Regions from separate parts of the Homo sapiens genome. Here region 2 is linked to region 1. The links are contacts of gene promoters, found by promoter capture Hi-C in human tissues and cell types (Jung and others, 2019). All regions are on one chromosome and are shown on one strand. Each heading gives the region's core, a stretch centred on a gene start or on the middle of the fragment in contact. The rest is flanking DNA. Distances are from core to core; before and after follow the strand shown.

Region 1 (2,700 bases), core at 120-2,619:
AGACTCAGTATCCCCTCAAAACACTCATTTTTTTTTTTTTTGAAACAGGGTCTAGCTCTGTTGCCCAGGCTGGAGTGCAGTGGCACGATGTTGGCTCACCGCAGTCTCGACCTCCTAGGCTCAATCCATCCTCCCACCTCAGCCTCCCGAGTAGCTGGGACTACAGGCATGGGCCACCACACCCAGCTATTTGTTGTTGTTGTTGTTGTTTTTAGAGATGGGGTCTCCCTATGTTGCTAATTTTTTAATTTTTTGTAAAGATGTGTTCTTGCTATGTTGCCAGAACTCCTGGGCTCCAGTGATCCTCCCGCCTCAAAGTGCGGGGATTATAGGCCCGAGCTACTGCACCAGACCAGTTGTTTTTATATTGATTAGATTATATATTGAAGTTAATACATCATTAAACTTTACTTCAATTGTTTCTTTTTAGGTTTTTTTTGTTTTGTTTTGTTTTGTTTTTGTTTTTGTTTTGTTTTTGAGACATAGTCTTGCTCTGTCTCCCAGGCTGGAGTGCAGTGGCAGAATCTTGGCCCACTGCAACCTCCACCTCCTGGGTTCAAACGATTCTCCTGCCACAGGGTTTCACCCTGTTGCCCAGGCTGGTCTCAAACTCCTGACCTCAAATGATCCATCCACCTCAGCCTCCCAAAGTGTTGGGATTACAGGCATGAGCCACAGCGCCCAGCCTCTTTTTAGTTCTTTAATGGAGCTACTAGAAAATTTCAAAAAGGCCGGGCATGGTGGCTCATGCCTGTAATCCCAGCACTCTGGGAGGCCAAGGTGGGTGGATCACCTGAGATCAGGAATTCCAGACCAGCCTGACCAACGTGGTTAAAACCCCATCTCTACTAACATACAAAAATTAGCCAGGCGTGGTAGCAGGTGCCTGTAATCCCAGCTACTCCGGAGGCTAGGGCAGGAGAATTGCTTGAACCCAGAAGGCAGAAGTTGCAGTGAGCCAAGATTGTGCCGTTGTACTCCAACCTGGGCAACAAGAGCGAAACTCCGTCTCAAAAAAAAAAAAAAAAAAAAAAAGGAAGAAAGAAAATTTCAAATGACCTATGTGGCTTGCGTTTGTGGTGGCGTGGTATTTCTATTGGTTAGTGCTGGTGTAGCCTCTGGCTACCAAGCCCCTCAGGGTTGGGAAGAGACCCAGAGCTGGAGAGTTCAGAAGAAACTCAGGGACCTTGAGTCCTGCCCTTCCCCGTGGCAGAAGGAGAAACTGAGGCTGGTGTAGGAGTCTCTCCCTTCACTCACCTGGGCCAGCGACTTCTCCTGCGATGGGCTCAGGTCACCCACTTGTCCACTCATGCTGCCCATGAATGGGTCCAGGCTCCACTCTGTGGCTCCCTCCAGGTGGCCTGCCTTTTGCCAGCTGGTAGCCATGCCCACATTTATCACCACCCAGAAATCCCACTACTTCCTGTGAGCCTCAGGGCAACAGGTGGGGCTCATTCCTTACTAGGTGCCTCAGGCATGGGGCCCTGGATTCAGCCTGCCCTGGGTTCACATCCTCACTTGCAAAATTAGGACAGCGATGTTTCCTCGGAGCGTTGATGACATGTTGAAATTGACACCACCTGATTTCACACACACACGGAGGCGGCTGTTCACCCTGCCTCTCAGTCCCCTACCCTCTACTCCTGTGGTCCCATCGGATGCCTCTTTGAGCCAGGAGAAGTCATCTCTCACCCCCAACAGAGGCCCGGAAGTCACTGTCATCATGCCTTCACTCTCATCCCAGGCTTCATCTACCACCTGACATGTCCAGAGCAACTGCCCATGATTCATCCCAGATGTTAAGGCACATGGCTTCAGGGTTGAGGATGAAACTTCCCAGGCCCAGACCCAAACAGGTGGATTTGCAATCCTGAGCTGGGCCACACTTGGCCTGGGAGCCAGGATGAGAGGTGAGGAGGGACTCCTGGCTACATCTGCCCCCACCACCCACTGGACAAGCAGAAAGCCAGAGCCCAAGGTGAGGACACATGAGATCACGCGGTGTGCACGGGGCCTGGAACACAGTAGTTATTTGTAGTAGTCTGGGTTGCCCTGAAACAAGGAGTTCAGGGCAAGTTTATTAGGGAGGTGTCCTGAGAAACACAAGTAGGGAAGTGTGGAAATGAGACAGAGAACGGAAGGCAGCTGTATAGGCCTGGTTATCAAGGAAGTACAGAAGAGCTCAATCCCAGTGGGGACTTCTGGGAGACAGCAGGGAACCTGCCCATCAGCGTTTCCTTGCCTGAGTGGGGAGGGAGCTGGGGTATTTATGCAGCATCTCGGGACAGTCTTCAGTTGAGGGCTGCTCCAGGGGCTGTCAATTCTGCTGGCACTGCTGGCCTGCTGTGCACACAATTCAGAAGGCTGGAGAGCGTACTTAGGCAGAGAAACACAGGTGCTGCTGCTGGGGAGTAGTGAGGCTGAGGTGATACAGGCAGAACATCACCAGCTTTAGCTCTAATCAGAAACCGTTTGCTGGGCTCCATGTCAAGTTCTAGTCCAAAGGCTTCATGTGCTCCTTGAGCCCCAGACTGTTCTTCCCTACCTGACAGAGCCTGGAAGAGGGAAGCAGCATGCCTGGGGCCATACAGCCATGTAGTAAGTGACAATCAGGACTATCTGGACCTGGTGCTTACTCAGGACATTGTATCCCACATGCCTGGCTCCTGCCAGAGGCATGCACATAGGTGGCCTTACTAA
Region 2 (2,700 bases), core at 199-2,698, 190 kb after region 1:
AGCCAATGCCTTCAACTAATCCATGTAGAGCCAGAGAATGGGACATCCTTGCTCTGTAGATCTCATGATAGAACAAAAGGGCAGCATCAGGGAGACATTGGCCCCAGGTGCCTCCCAGCAGGAGATGCCTCTACGTCTGCCCCCTCAGGCTCTGGGCCTCCAATTTCAGTTTTAATGGCAGGATCCCAACCTGCTCCAACTCTGTAGTTCTTTTTTTTGTTTGTTTTGAGACAGAGTCTCGCTCTGTCACCCAGGCTGGAGTGTAGTGGCACCATTTTGGCTCACTGCAACCTCCGCCTCCCGGGTTCAAGTGATTCTCCTGCCCCAGCCTCCCAAGTAGCTGGGACTACAGGTGCACGCTACCATGCCCGGCTAATTTTTGTATTTTTGTAAACGCCCAAGGGGTTCACCTTGCCTGCTGCCTAGACGGAGGCGATTCATGAAAACAGGGGAATTGCAATAGAGAAAGAGTAATTCACACAGAGTCTGCTGTGCGGGAGATGGGAGTTTTATTATTATTCAAATCAGTCTCCCTGAGCATTCAGGGAGCAGAGTTTTTGTTTTGTTTTGTTTTGTTTGTTTGTTTGTGTTTGAGACAGAGTCTCGCTCTGTAGCCCAGGCTGGAGTGCAGTGGCGCGATCTTGGCTCACGGCAACCTCTGCCTCCCCGGTCCTGGTTTAAGCAATTCTCCTGCCTCAGCCTCCCGAGTAGCTGGGATTACAGGCAAGAGCCACCACGCCCAGCTAATTTTTGTATTTTTAGTAGAGACGGGATTTCACCATGTTGGCCAGCTGGTCTTGAACTCCTGACCTCGGGTGATCTGCCCATCTCGGCCTCCCAAAGTGCTGGGATTAAAGGTGTGAGCCACCGCGCCTGGCCAAGGGGAGCAGAGTTTTTAAGGATAACTTGGAGGGTGGTGGGGGAACCAGTAAGCCAGGAGTGCTGATTGGTCAGGGATGAGATCACAGGATGTTGAAGCTGTCTTCTTGTGCTGAGTCAGTTCCTAGGTGGGGGCCACAAGATCAGACGAGCCAGTTTATCGATGTGGGTGGTGCCAGCTGATCCATCAAGTGCAGGGTTTGCAAAATATCTCAAGCACTGCTCTTAGGAGCAGTTTAGGGAGGGTCAGAATCTTATAGCCTCCAAATGCATGACTCCTAAACCATAATTTCTAATCCTGTGGCTAATGTTACTCTAGTCCCTAGGCAAGAAGGAGGTCTGCTTCGGGAAAGGGCTGTTCCCATCTTTGTTTAAACTATAAACTACAAATTAAGTTTCTTTCAAAGTTAATTCAGCCTATGCCCAGGAATGAACAAAGACAGCTTGGAGGTTAGAAGCAAGATGGAGTCAGTTAAGTTAGATCTCTTTCACTCTCAGTCATAATTTTGCAAAGGCAGTTTCATTTTTAGTAGAGACAGGGTTTCACCGTGTTGGCTCATGACCTCAAGTGATCTGCCCTCCTCGGTCTCCCAAAGTGCTGAGATTACAGGTGTGAGCCACCGCGCCTGGCCCCAACTCCATGGTTCTAAGACTTAAAGGAAAGAGTTTAGCATAGAGTCCGAAGGCTGATCTGTCTTGAGAGACCTGGGCAGTCATTCTGCCATTTCCTGGTGTCTGCAAAGCTTTAGACCACACCAGACACTCCCTGCACACGTGGCACCAATGCAGGCTCCCGTCCCTCTGCCATTCCCCACAGAGAGCAGTCGTGGCCTTAGAGTCCCCCTCAACCAAGCCACGACCAGGCAGTTCCAATAGGCATCATCTCCCAACTTTGACTCCAGGGCCTCTCCCAGCTCTGAGGGTCTGAGATTCTGAGGATTTGCCTGGAGGGTTTCTTTAGTCTGGAGCCATTGAGATTAGGAGCCTCACCCCATTCCTTCTCTTACATCCTACAGAAATCAGGGTGAAATGGCCCACACGTGCCGTGGAACCATCAACCTGTCCACCGCGCACATTGACACGGAGGACTCTTGTGGTATCTTGCTGACCAGTGGGGCCAGGAGCTACCACCTCAAGGCCAGCTCAGAGGTGGACCGGCAGCAGTGGATCACCGCCCTGGAGCTGGCCAAGGCCAAGGCTGTCCGCGTGATGAACACTCATTCAGGTAGTGAGCACTTGGGACAGCGGGTGTGTATATGGTGGTGTCATGAGTCTGGAGGAAGTGGGAATTGCAAGCCACTGGTGGGCAGTGGTGGCCAGGAGACCCAGGCCAGCGTGGATCAATCTGGAAGGTCAAGGTGCGTGCATGTTCTGTGCATCGTCAGCAGTGAGAGACTCAGCCATTCTGTCTGGCGAGCAGTTCTTGGCATGGAAATGTTTTTGGTGGGCAGGAGCTGTGTGTGCCTTTCTTTGGGCTAGTCAGGACTTCAGCAGACCCTTCAGATGCTGCAGTGGGTTAGGTCCAGAAGCAGCAGTCAGTCTGTGCCTCAAGCCAGCCGTTTCCCCAGGTTCCCCCATCGTGGAGAGTGAAACCATTTAGCCAGAGCTGCTGTCTTTGCCTATTAGGGAAGCCCGCTCAGATGTCCTGAGCAAGACATTTTGTTTCTTACTTTATAAATTTATTTTATTTTTTGAGATAGAGTCTCACTCTGTCGCCCAGGCTGGAGTACAGTGGCATGATCTCGGCTCACTGCAACCTCTGCCTTCCGTGTTCAAGCAATTATCCTGCCTTAGCCTCCCAAGTAGCTGGGATTATAGGCG

Evidence for each region. Contacts are between HindIII fragments. The study calls those that stand out against the background at their distance.
Region 2: a fragment that was not itself captured here is called in contact with the fragment with the promoter of SEC14L6 in region 1 in 1 of the 25 tissues and cell types used here (IMR-90 fibroblasts).

Annotation. Positions count from the first base shown.
Region 1 is chr22:30,545,372-30,548,071 of GRCh38, forward strand. SEC14L6 (SEC14 like lipid binding 6) reads right to left here and starts at 1,370. Exons shown (of 12, transcript NM_001193336.4): 1 at 1,258-1,370. The coding sequence starts at 1,311. The HindIII fragment of the contact is 18,463 bases long and covers 1-2,700 here.
Region 2 is chr22:30,739,266-30,741,965 of GRCh38, forward strand. It overlaps OSBP2 (oxysterol binding protein 2), which reads left to right. Exons shown (of 14, transcript NM_030758.4): 2 at 1,896-2,104. Among named protein-coding and RNA genes, the nearest start is that of MIR3200, 9.1 kb to the left of the region's middle. RefSeq lists enhancers at 1,083-1,142, 1,433-1,492. The HindIII fragment of the contact is 6,032 bases long and covers 1-2,700 here.